Regions from separate parts of the Homo sapiens genome. Here regions 1, 3 and 4 are each linked to region 2. The links are contacts of gene promoters, found by promoter capture Hi-C in blood cells and fetal thymus (Javierre and others, 2016). All regions are on one chromosome and are shown on one strand. Each heading gives the region's core, a stretch centred on a gene start or on the middle of the fragment in contact. The rest is flanking DNA. Distances are from core to core; before and after follow the strand shown. Region 1 overlaps ASCC1 (activating signal cointegrator 1 complex subunit 1). Region 2 holds the start of OIT3 (oncoprotein induced transcript 3). Region 3 overlaps MICU1 (mitochondrial calcium uptake 1). Region 4 holds the start of DNAJB12 (DnaJ heat shock protein family (Hsp40) member B12).

What was found. The method cuts DNA at HindIII sites, captures the fragments that hold promoters and counts their contacts. A CHiCAGO score of 5 or more calls a contact.
Region 1: a fragment that was not itself captured here is called in contact with the fragment with the promoter of OIT3 in region 2 in 1 of 17 cell types (neutrophils); the score reaches 5.2 in neutrophils.
Region 3: a contact is called between a fragment that was not itself captured here and the fragment with the promoter of OIT3 in region 2, in 11 of 17 cell types (total CD4 T cells, erythroblasts, endothelial precursors and 8 more). The highest score is 7.8, in total CD4 T cells.
Region 4: a contact is called between the fragment with the promoter of DNAJB12 here and the fragment with the promoter of OIT3 in region 2, in 8 of 17 cell types (erythroblasts, endothelial precursors, M2 macrophages and 5 more). The highest score is 12.6, in erythroblasts.

The regions. Positions count from the first base shown.
Region 1 is chr10:72,177,080-72,180,226 of GRCh38, reverse strand. The region is part of intron 5 of ASCC1 (activating signal cointegrator 1 complex subunit 1); the gene reads left to right. Among named protein-coding and RNA genes, the nearest start is that of ANAPC16, 37 kb to the left of the region's middle. The HindIII fragment of the contact is 2,243 bases long and covers 595-2,837 here.
Region 2 is chr10:72,892,104-72,895,390 of GRCh38, reverse strand. It overlaps OIT3 (oncoprotein induced transcript 3), which reads right to left and starts at 1,652. Exons shown (of 9, transcript NM_152635.3): 1 at 1,532-1,652. The coding sequence starts at 1,592. The HindIII fragment of the contact is 8,602 bases long and covers 1-2,535 here.
Region 3 is chr10:72,374,933-72,378,196 of GRCh38, reverse strand. MICU1 (mitochondrial calcium uptake 1) reads left to right here. Exons shown (of 12, transcript NM_001195518.2): 11 at 2,325-2,414. Among named protein-coding and RNA genes, the nearest start is that of DNAJB12, 22 kb to the right of the region's middle. The HindIII fragment of the contact is 6,523 bases long and covers 1-3,264 here.
Region 4 is chr10:72,353,630-72,356,747 of GRCh38, reverse strand. DNAJB12 (DnaJ heat shock protein family (Hsp40) member B12) reads left to right here and starts at 1,829. Exons shown (of 9, transcript NM_017626.7): 1 at 1,829-1,983. The coding sequence starts at 1,851. RefSeq lists enhancers at 1,603-1,852, 2,243-2,372. The HindIII fragment of the contact is 22,726 bases long and covers 1-3,118 here.

The sequences.
Region 1 (3,147 bases), core at 467-2,966, 720 kb after region 2:
GCTTACTGCAACCTCTGCTCCCTGGGTTCAAGCAGTTCTTATGCCTCAGCCTCCTGGTTAGCTGGAATTATAGGCATGTGCCAACATGCCTGGCTAATTTTTGTATATTTTTAGTAGAGATGGGGTTTCACCATGTTGGCCAGGCTGGTTTCAAACTCCTGACCTCAAGTGATCCACCTGCCTTGGCCTCCTAAAATGCCGAGATTACAGGTGTGAGCCACCGTACCCGGCCGGTTCTTTTAAAGTATTTTTCTTTTCTGTCATTAGTATTTTTATGTTTTTTTAAAAATAGTTGAGTTTCACCACTGGAACATTTGGATTGTTTCCACTTATGGGATATTATGAATAAAGCTGCTGTTCATGCATTTTTTTTCTGCTAGTAATCTATAATATTGTAAATTAGCCTGAGTGTCCCACTGTTTTTATTCACTCAATTGATAATTGAGTGATGTATAAAATAGCAAATATGTATTGAGCTTTGTATTTTGCTAGACAGTGTTCTAAATGTCTCCTATGTTCATTTTGTTTAATCTTCAGTCCCTCCCTATGAGGTAGGTATTTATATCTCATTTCACTGATGAAGGAATGGAAGCTTAGAGAGAGTAACTTGCCTAAGGTGCCACAGCTAGTGGATGCCACAGTGTTAAGTAGAGCAGTGATACGAAGTTGCGTAGGATCTAGCATCTGCTCTAATCCAATAGAACAAATAGTTGACAGTCCTAGGGGTCACTGAGGAAAAGTTATTTGAATGGGAAAAAAATATCCTGTTAAACAATTGAAGACATTTTGATGGTTGCTTGCTAATCAACTGACCAACTGCTAACCAACTATACCAATCTTTCAGCAGGCATTTTCAAGTGAGAACAGCCTTGACTGGAATTCGGTAATAATTTGGACAGTATTTGAGGGTTTAAAAAAGAGCAGCAGGCCGGGCGCAGTGGCTCACACCTGTAATCCCATCACTTTGGGAGGCCAAGGCAGGTGAATCAGTTGAACCCAAGAGTTTGAGATCAGCCTGGGCAACCAAAACTTGTGTCTACAAAACATACAAAAATTAGCCAGCCTGGACAACAAGGCAAGATCCTGTCTCAGGAAACAACAACAACAACAACAAAAACAAGCAGCAGAGCTTTCCACTTTTGCTTGGGTTATTATTCAAATCATATACTCTTCCCGAATTGTTGAAAAGAAGTGTCATATGGATCAGATATTATCTAAGGACACGTTCATTAAGATGTCTGCCTTCAGTCCTGGTTCAGGACTTAAGAAGGTGAGACTCTTCATCTTCTGAAAAAAAAAATTGATATTATTAATGTTTATTTCTTTTTTTGAGAAGGTAAATTTATTTTTCTTTATAGCTTATGTCAAATACGTCAAGTGCTTTTGGGATCTCTGATATGAAAGATTCTGTTGAAATATCAGGTTATAGTTTACCCTACCTTATGAGTTTTCTATTGCTGTGTAAAAAATTACCACAATCGTAGCAGCCTAAAACCACACCCATGTATCATCTCACAGTTCTCTGGTAGTTTCATAGTACTGCAGGTCGGAAGACCCAGTGGGCTGGACTGGGTTGTCTGCTTAGGGTCTCACAAGGCCAAAATCAAGATGTTGACCAGACTGGTATCTCATCTGGAGGCTCTTGGGAAGAATCAACTTCCATGTGCATTCAGGTTGTTGGCAGAATTCAGATCCTTGTGTCTATATGTCTGAAAGTGCCGTTTCCTTGACACGTGACTGCTCTGGCTTCACCAAATCCTTCTTGTGTCAGATCTGACTTCTGCCACCAGCCAAAGACTCTGCTTTTTAAACAGCTCATGGGTATAGATTAGTCTCATTGGGATAATCTCTCTCTCTTAAAGTCCGCTGTACCATAGAACATAATATAATTTGTAGGATTCATACATTATCACAGCCACAGGGTCCACCTACAACCTGGATTATACCAGGGTAAAAGGTCATTAGGGGTCAGTCTGAGAATTCTATCACAGCTATTAATTTTCATTGTTAAACGTTGTTGTGAAGGTCACATTTTTGGTACAACAGGCAACTTTTCTATGCTCAGGTCTCATTCTATCCTTCTGATCATCCTTCCTTGAACATAATTCTTTCTTCCTTTAAAACAGTCAGCCTCTTTTTCCTCTTTGTTTGGTAGCAGACTTGTCCTTGACCTCACCCTTGGCTCTTCATGTTAACTGAATTTACCTTTTAGGATAGCATTCCCTGAAGTCACCTTTCTTTGTGTTCATCTGTTATATAAGAAATATTGTTTGACTGCAGACATTATCACTATCATCCCTGTGCTTCAGTTCCCTAATCTTGAGTATTTAATGTAGGATTTAGCTGCTCACAGACATTAGCAAGGTATTCTTCATCTGTGTGATCTGCAGATAAGCTGCACCTTATTTTTTCATTCTTTCGTCTCTTGCATTAAGATTCAAAGATGTCTCATTGCCTGCAAGTTCAAGAAGTATATTACAACCTTGTATATCTCTCAATCATTTTTTAGCTAGTAATGCTGCTATAATTCCACTTTATCTCACAGCAGGGTCCAGTAGAAAGCACATCAGTAATGAAAAACGGTAATTCAAAACCATGTGCAGTGGAACATTTGAAGGCTTATAGATCCATCTGAAGCAACAGGGGATTTCTCAGGCTGCCTAGAGAACCTGAATCAGTTATAGCTGCAGAAACTACATAATTCTGCTCATATTGTAACATGGAGGCTTACACTGGGCAGAATGGGTAATGGGTCTGCATCCCCCTAACTCCCTCAGGCAGGATTTTTTTTCCAGTTAGTATTAGTCACTGAAGAAGAAAATGTTTATATAAAAGCTTTAGTGTATAATTTAGGATTTTTCATGTTTAAGGGTAGTTGTAGGATTTGTAGTTATCTTTTGAACTGATTTAGAATGAAGATGGGATAGTTGTCTTTGGTTGTAAGGAAAATTGTAAAAAGCCCCAAGTTCTGATTGTAAAACCTACCAAGTTGGGTAGGAAAGTAAGAAAAGGAAATATTTACAAGATTCATATATTGTCCCATTTCGGTGGAGATACTAGTTTTGAACAGGTTTTTGTGTCTTATTGATTCATGCACTAGTTATTAAATGTCTACTTTATACCAGGTATATATAACATATAGGACAT
Region 2 (3,287 bases), core at 403-2,902:
AGGAAAAGATCTGGGAAGGGCGATGGTATATGGAAAGAATGGGGAATATAGGAGGTACTAGAGGGAGAATAGGTAAGGAGAAGGGTGGGAAGAAAGGGGAGTGGAGATTTTCGGGAGGACAACTTTCTGAGCGACCCTTGGGTTAGTTATTGGCAGCAGATAGGGGGTGATTAATGACAGGTAGCTCAAGCATATTTTTTGGAATAGTTTTGGATTTACAGCATAATTGAGATGATAGGACAAAGAGATCCCACATACCCCACACCCAGTTTCCCTTGTTATGACACGTTACCTTTAGCCATACATTTACCACACATTGGCATGGTACCTTTGTCACATTAATGACCCACTATTGATACCTGATTATTAACTCAAGTCCACACTTATTCAGATTCCCTTAGTTTCCACCCATATCTTTCTGTTCCAGGATCCCACATTACCTTTAGGTGTCAGGTCTCCTTAGGGTCTCAAATCACCATTTTTATTTTTATTTTTATTTTTTTGAGATGGAGTCTCCCTCTGTTGCCCAGGCTGGAGTGCAGTGGTTCGATCTCGGCTCACTGCAACCTCCACATCCCGAGTTCAAGTGATTCTCCCGCCTCAGCCTCCCAAGTAGCTGGAATTACAGGCATGCAACACCATGACCATCTAATTTTTTTGTGTGTATGTATTTTTAGTAGAGACGGAGTTTCACCATGTTGGCCAGGCTGGTCTTGAACTCCTGACCTCAGGTGATCCACCCGCCTTGGCCTCTCAAATGCTGGCATTACAAGTGTGAGCCACCGTGCCTGGCCACAAGCCTATTTTTAATGTGTATCCTTTCAGGTACTAGAGCAACCATGAAGAAATAAGCCAGGGTCAATTAGATACTGAGCTACTCAAAAGTGTCAAGAAGGATGGTTCTCTCCATCTCACCCCCACCCTCTGTTCCAGTTAGTACTCACATTCTACTAGAAAAAGATGCAAGAGAGAAATCTGTTAGTAACTGGAATTGAAACTTTTCTTTGCCTGACTGGCCAGTTTTGCACCAAGCCTGAGGAGGGAGACAATTTAAGATTCACTCGATCTGTGCAAAAAGTCTTATTTTCTGACATAAAGACTAATGAGTTTGGTTTATCCAGATCTGTGCCCCCCATGGCAACAGAGCTTTCAGTCCCTTGCCTTCATTAAAGAAAAATTCTATGCTCAACTTTAATTTTTTTTTTTTTGGCTCTTCAAGTTGGAACTATAAAGTGCCTAGAACACAAAGAAGATAGAATTATTTTTACACATACTCCAGGAACTCTTTAGCTAGTGAAAGCTGTGGGATATGGCAGATCCATGGAAATTTTGGAGTCCAGGCAAGAGGCTAAATGGAACATGTAACAGAAATTCTCGGGAAATCTATTTTCAAGGATTATTAGGGACTTTTCTTACAAGATTCTAGAGCTAGCATTTAAGGTACTGGAATCTAGTTCTTAATCATCTGTACATTATAGCAAATTGCCACAACAAAAAGTGCATTGTGCCAAGTTCTTGACATGAGACTCACCCACGGGTGACACGGAGGTGCCTGTGATGAAGAGGCAGGTGAGAAGCAGGAATGGAGGCATCCTTCTGGACCAACTGCCAGAAACACTGGAAAATCCTCTTAATACTGGTGTTCCTTTGTCCCCTTCTCTTTCAAGCACTTTTTTTTTTAAGGCCTCTAGGCTCTCACGAGAAAGACTTTATCAGCACTGGTAGGGGCTTTATCAGAGGAAGAGGATGAGGATGAGTGGGATAAGGTGTCCACAGCTCTGGCCTTGGCCCCAGAGAGAAGCACTGCTTTACACTGTCAACAGGGTTCCTTTATTAATAGTTTTCTTTAGGAAAAAAAAAAAAAAACACAACTCACAATCCCTCATCCTCCTATTGTTTTCTCTCAAGAATTCCCTGCAATGAAACCCCAGTATCTTATCCAGAAGGGAATTCTAAATGAGGGACATCCCTTCACGTCAAATTCTTGCTTTGTGACTTCTAGGAATTGATTTCACAATGTTGCAGCCATAGCACTGCACACTAAACGAGAATGGATGAAGCCAAATCACTGCAACTGTCTTGGTCAGATGGTTGAGGAGCTTATAATAGCACACAAAACAAAGTAGTAAGGACAGGTATGAGACAAGGACAGTATTCTCTTGAAATAAGCTCCTGAGTTTGTTTTATTACGGTCTTTGGCCTCAAAACTTCTGAAAGAAACAAGGTTTAAATTGTGTTTTTACTAATTCAAGCAGCAATACCTCATATTTTTATTGTCTTTACTCCCAAAATTAAAAAATGGTTTAATGTTATTTATTTCACTAATTCTCACATTAAGATGGGGTAGGAGCTTAAAATTAGAAACTACTCATTAAATTAACACTCTGGAAAATTAAATGTCAAAATTTCCTGAAGTTTCACTTTTAGACAAAGGAGAGAAAATGTGCTTCTTAGCACAATTTTTTTTTTCAGACGGAGTCTTACTCTGTCGCTCAGGCTGGAGTGCAGTGGTGTGATCTCGGCTCATTGCAAGCTTCGCCTCCCGGGTTCACGCCATTCTCCTGCCTCAGCCTCCCAAGTAACTGGGACTATAGGCGCCCACCACCACGCCCAGCTAATTTTTTTGTATTTTTAGTAGAGACAGGGTTTCACTGTGTTAGCCAGGATGGTCTCGATCTCCTGACCTCGTGATCCGCCTGCCTTGGCCTCCCAAAGTGCTGGGATTACAGGTGTGAGCCACCGAGCTCGGGCAATCACTGGTTTTTGACAATGACAAAAGTACACATGGTCTCCAGAAGCACAGGGTTTATGGTCAAGCAAGGGGTTTCCATTGATCTAAAATTGTAGTTAGCTACTTCATTACTAACATCAGTGGGACACAGGCAATTTGACCATTAACTTATTAAGTTGTGGTTTGATGGCAGCAATGGATGACTCTGCTGTCTCATTGCAGGATAGTGTTGCTAAGTATCAGTGCTTTAAACAGAAAAAACAATCCCCCACAACTTCCTGCGCCTAGGAAGCCATCTGAGGGCTTCATATGTGTTGCAGAGAAACAGAGGACGTGTGCATGAGATAAACCCAGACTTGTTGCCAGGATTGATTGCTGGAGTCAAGGACTTTCACCAGATAGCCTTTGGTTCTGTAAACAAGAATTCCCAGGATGGTAAGATGTTTTTTCCCCCTTATTTCTATTTTTTCCTTTTTAGTTGACCTGCTCTTTCATTTTTTACTTTTTATGATGAAAAATTTCAAATATATATACAAAAGTATAAAGAACAATAATG
Region 3 (3,264 bases), core at 742-3,241, 520 kb after region 2:
ACTGCAACCTCCGCCTCCCAGGTTCAAGTGATTCTCATGTCTCAGCCTCCTGAGTAGCTTGGACTATAGGTGCGCACCACCACGCCCAGCTAATTTTTGTATTTATTTTAGTAGAGACAGGGTTTCACCATGTTGGCCAGGCTGGTCTCGAACTCCTGACCTCAGGTGATCCATCAGCCTTGGCCTCCCAAAGTGCTGGGATTACAGGTGTAAGCCACCACGCCTGGCCTGGGAATTACAATTTGACATGAGATTTGGGTGGGGGCACAAATCTAAACCGTATCGGGTAAATATATGGAGGTGATAGAGGCAAAGTGAAAGATCAAATGCAAAAAATGACAAGATGGGCTGATAATAGGAACTGAAATTATAGGAATGCGATAAACAAGGCACAGTGGTTCTAGTTTAAGTTCACTTGGCTTCTGGATGAATCTAATGTGATGATTATAGAGAGCTCTTCATTACCAGCATAAATGGAAATTAATCCTTTTCTTTCCCTCATATTTTACCTCACTTAAGAATGTGTCCAGAAGCAATAACATGATTTATAGGTGTAGCTAGACCAGGTTTGAGGATAAATGAGAGAGAAGGCAGTGGAAATTGCCTCGTCCTTCCTGTCTTGTCTTTCATGAGAACCCAATTCTAACATAATTGCTAGTGTTTGACGGTGAATGTCTGGGAAAGAGAAAACGGCAAGAGAAAAGTGATTTTTTGCTGAGGTCTAAAAATATATATTTTTTAAAAGAAAGATATGCATCCTGAACTATTGGCCGGGCCCGCTGAGTGTGGTGGCTCACCCCTGTAATCCCAGCACTTTGAGAGGCCGAGGTGGGCAGATCACCTGAGGTCAGGAGTTCAAGACCACCCTGGCCAACATGGTGAAACCCCATCTCTACTAAAAATATAAAAATTAGCCAGGCGTGATGGCAGGCACCAGTAGTCCCAGCTACTTGGGAGGCTGAAGCAGGAGAATTGTTTGAACCCGGAAGGCAGTGGTTGCAGTGAGCCGAGATCGTGCCACTGCACTCCAGTCTGGCGGACAGAGTAAGACTCTGTCTCAAAAAAAAAAAGAAAGATACGCATCCTGAACTGTTAAGACAAGGGCCAGTGCATATACCAATGGGCTCAGTTGGAAGAAGTCTGGTGCAAAACCAGTAGGGAGGAGGGACAGAGTTGGGCAGGGAGGGCTCACTGTGCAGGCACTTAGCTGTCATTCACCCACCAAGGCGTGAAGCCTTAGTGTACTCACACCACAGACAAGCCTCCTTGTTCCCACCACCCATTTATATATTTCTATAAATATATATATAAATATAAAAATATATATGGCATAAAATGTGCCATTATAACCATTTTTAAATATACAAGTCAGTGGAATTACATTAATTACATTCACAATGTTGTACAACCATCATCACTATTTTCAAAATTTTTCCATCACCCCAGACAGAAATTCTGTATACATAAAGCAGTAACTCCCCATTCCCCTCAGCCCACAATAACCTCTAATCTACTTTCTGTCTATAAATTGAATATCAGGCACTTTTTATTTTTTGAGACAGTGTCTCACTCTGTTACATAGAGTGTTACTCCAGTACAGTGGCGCCATCTCAGCTCATTGAAACCTCTGCCTCCTGGGCTCAAGCTATCCTCTCACCTCAGCCTCCCAAGTAGCTGGTGCACACCACCATGCCGGGCTAATTTTTTGTATTTTTTGTAGAGACAGGGTTTCGCCATGTTGCCTCGGAATCCCAAAGTGCTGGGATTACAGGTATGAGCCACCGCGCCTGGCCAGCCTAGGCATTCTTAATTAACTATATATACCTCCTAAACTGTAGCAGCAGTAGAAAAGAACAGAACTTGAGGTGAAAAGGAGGGAGCTTATGAATAAAAACTCAATTATCATTTTTTCTTTTTTTTTTTGAAACGGAGTCTCACTCTCCCAGGCTGGAGAGCAGTGGCGTGATCTCAGCTCACTGCAACCTCCGCCTCTCGGGTTCAAGCAATTCTCTGCCTCAGCCTCCCAAGTAGCTGGGATTACAGGCACCGGCTAATTTTTTGTATTTTTAGTAGAGACAGGGTTTCACCATCTTGGCCAGGCTGGTCTTGAAGTTCTGGCCTCAGGTGATCCACCCTCCTCGGCCTCCCAAAGTGCTGGAATTACAGGCATGAGCCACTGTGGCCAGCCTAACTTATCATTTTCTTAAATGTGACTTAAATGCAGTTGAAAACTTGTATTATGACTGAGTCGTTTTATCCCCTGAATCAGAGAAAGCAAAATGAAAATCCCTCTGCTGTGCTAATGCACCTCTTTCTTTTTTCAGTGACCATGCAGCAGGTGGCCAGGACAGTGGCTAAAGTGGAGCTCTCAGACCACGTGTGTGATGTGGTGTTTGCACTCTTTGACTGTGATGGTGAGTGGGGCCCTCTGGAGCCCGGAGGGGAAACAGCCTAGCTGCCCTTAGAGGCCCTTGTGTATAATGGAGCCTTGCGGACAGCATCTGTGTACCAGCCCATCCTCTTCAAGCTACCCACCTTTCTCACATTAGCACCTCAGCCCTTGGCATGATGATACTGAGAAATCGAACCCCTGGCCCTGGCTTCTGTTTTCCATTTCTTCTTCTTATAATTCCAATATGCCTATAGGCCTAAATTAATTTATGACCATAAGCATCTTAAAAATGGAAACAAAAATGTCAGACTCAACTTGCTACTTAGCGGATACGGAGCACTCAGGTATCTGAGTGTCTTTAGAAAGAAGGCAGTACTGATCTCTCCACCACCCAGGGCACATTCCAGCCAGTTGCATTCCATCTCCATAGCATTCCAGCTCCACACAGTGGTCTGTTGTGTCTGTGGCCACTCTGCTCTGTCATTTAGCCCATTCAAGAGATCTGGTTCTGGTTTGACCTTGGCATTATTTTTTAGGTATGGTAGCTGATATACTAATAACAACAATAACAACGGATGCTTACACTTTTTCAATGCTTACTATGAGCCAGAAAGTTAATCTGCTCATTTAATCTTCTGACCTAGGTATTGTTATTGACCACTTTTTACTGATGAGAAAGCTGAGACTCAGAGAGGTTAAGTAGATTTCCTAAGGTCACAAAGATAATAGTATTTGGGAGGCTGAGGCAGGCGGATCACCTGAGGTCAGGAGCTCAAGACCAGCCTGGCCAACATGGTGAAACCCCGTCTCTATTAAAAATACAAAAATTAGCCAGGCACAGTGGTGCGTGCCTGAAATCCCAGCTACTCGAG
Region 4 (3,118 bases), core at 580-3,079, 540 kb after region 2:
TACTACCACACCCAGCTAATTTTTTATTTTTTTGTAGTGATGGGATCTCACTCTGTTGCCCAGGCTGGTCTCAAACTCCTTGCCTCAAGTGATCCTCCCACCCCTGGCCTCCCAAAATGTTGGGATTATAGGAGTGAGCCACTGTGCCTGGCCCCAAAGTTATATTTCCAGGTCCTTTTTGCCTAAACCCTACGTATGTACAACATCCTAGTCTGTATCTCTGCTTGATTCTAAAAAGCATCATAAACTGAATCAAACCCTTAATATTCCCCCACCAAACTGCTTTTGTAGTCTTTTCCATTTCCTTGTTTTAGTAAATAGAAATTCTCTTCTTCCAGTTATCAAGCCAAAAACATTGGAATCATCCTTGAATCTTCTTTCTCTCACAGCCCACATCCATTGCGTCATTCTGTCTTCAAAATATATCCAGAATTTTACTACTACTCACCACCTCCGCCATCACCCTTATCCAAGTTACCATTAATTTTCACCTGTATTATAATAGTAGCTTCCTGACTCTCATCCGGATTACTGTAGTAGCATCTTACCAAATCCTGCCTGAAAGGCCAAGCAATGTAAGGGCTGACAGATGACTCGGGGATTCGGCAACGTGGAGGTCACTGGCAACCTTCACAAGATTGCTTTCACTGGAGTGATAGCCCTCGAAGAACGGGATAATGATAGAACTGGATTACACTCTGTAGTAGAATCTTTTTTTTTTCTTCTTTTTTTTTAGATGGCGTTTCACTCTTGTTGCCCAGGCTGGAGTGCAATGGTGTGATCTTGGCTCACCGCAACCTCCACCTCCCAGGTTCAAGCGATTCTCCCGCCTCAGCCTCCCGAGTAGGTGGGATTACAGGCCATGTGCCACCATGCCCGGCTAATTTTGTATTTTTAGTAGAGACGGGGTTTCTCCATGTTGGTCAGGCTGGTCTCGAACTCCTGACCTCAAGTGATCCGCCCGCCTCGGCCTCTCAAAGTGCTGGGATTACAGGCGTGAGCCACCGCGCCCAGCCTGTAGTAGAATCTTTACGCTCCCTAGAATGTATTCGCCTTCCTGATCTGTTATAACTCACCAAGAGAATTCCCTTTTCAGAGCCTTTGCACTTGCTGTTCCTTCGGCCTGACCACCCTTCCTCCAGACAGTCACATCTACCTGTTATCGTTCCTGAATTCTGGTACCTGTTAATGACAGCTTCTGAGAGGTTTCTTTTATCGCGCTATTTAAAATAGCGCCTCCCACTCTCTATCCCTGTGTTTTCCATAATTTTTCTTCAGAGCTTTTATCACTATCTGAATCTATCTGGAGCTCCCCCAGCCTACACACACTGGAATGTAAGCTCCATGAGAGCAGGAGCTTTGTTTTGCTCACCCCTGTATCCCCATCATAAAACCATGCCTCACAAACAGTGGGCACTCAATATCTGTTCAGTGAATAAATAACCTTTGTCTGAAACGTATGTAGTTACATTACGTATATAGATCACCACTTAGTAAACCGTCTGGGAATAACAGGCACTCCGAAGGCCCCAGTCTCATCCCGACGGCTACCACGTGACCTTCCTGAGCTTGGGTTTCCTCCTCCGGAAGATTAGAGGGTTGGCGCATACTCAACTCTAAGACCTCCGGAACATGGAATCTGGGCGTGCACCATTATTGACACCTACACCAGCCGTCCCTTTCTTAGAAGACATACGGTAGCACTTCCACCCTCGCTCAAAACTCGGGAAAGGAGGGGCGGAGGGTGGATGTCATCACTCCGCGCCCGGCTGCCCGCGACGCGCCGGCGGGTGGCGCAGCCCTTCGCTCGCCCGGCCTCCCCCTCCCTGGTTCCGCGTTCTGGTTCCGCCATGGAATCCAACAAGGATGAAGCTGAGCGCTGTATCAGCATCGCCCTCAAGGCCATCCAGAGCAACCAGCCCGACCGGGCGCTCCGCTTCCTGGAGAAGGCACAGCGGCTGTATCCGACGCCGCGAGTTCGCGGTGAGTGTGAGGTGCCGGAGAGACTGGGGACATTAGAACTGATGGGGGGAACACGGGAACGGACCGACGGGAGCAGTTGGGGGAGGGGGAGGGGTGGCGAGGCGCGGCTACGCCTGCGCACTGAGGCGCGCGGTGGCTGCTGGGAGGCGTAGTTTTTCCCTCTTGTTCCTCTGCGGGATGCGAGCCGTCTGGAGACTCGGGCGGCCGGGACTTCAGCTTTCGGGGTGCTGGCGGAGCCCGCTGGGGTTTGAGGTCTCCGAGAATGAAACGCGCTGGCAGCCGGGACGAAGGGAACTTACCTGGAAGTGAACTCGAACTACTTTTCCCAAGGGGCCGTTCGGTAGCCCAGGCCAGTCGCCGGCCTGGGAAATATTACAGTTCAGGAAAATAAACATAACTCCTTTAAGGGAGAGAATGGGCGCTAGACAGGGAGACATTTCTGTTCTTCGGGCGCCAGGGAAAGGCGCTTCCGTATCTTCACTCCCTCTCACCTCTCGGGCTGAGGGTCAGGGACCACTCTCCCAAAATGCAAGCCGGCCTTTGCACCCACCCCAGTCCGCCGCCTCGGACTGTCCTGAAGCCGGGCCCCTCACTCCTCCCGATGATGAGATTCGGAGCGGGTGGCCTGGTGGGAGGTGCTGACCTCAGCCACCGCCAGTCCTCCATCGCCCGCAAGAGTCCAGCGGCGGTCAGCCATGTGGACGCCGAGGCTGCTGAGTTGCCCTGGACAGGAGCCTCCTGAGCCAGGGAGGGAAGAGTGAAGCTGGCTTTACAACTCATCACCTCGCTTCACCCGGGAACCCTTTCTTTTTTCTTTAACCTAAGTTTTCCAAGGAGTTTTTCTTAATCCACGCTAGAGGGGAGAGAGACACCGGGTGGTGCTTGTGATCACCACTCAGTAAACCGTCTGGGAATAACAGGCACTCCGAAGGGCCCAGTCTCATCCTGACGGCTACCACGTGACCTTCCTGAGCTTGGGTTTCCTCCTCGGGAAGATTAGAGGGTTGGCGCAGATAATGTGATTGGCAATAATACCCATAGGGCTTTGCAGTTTAGGAAGCTCCTTCACCTGTGCCTTCTCACTTGAGCCTGCCAGTCAGGGATGCAGAGCAAAGATCATTATCTTTATTCTATG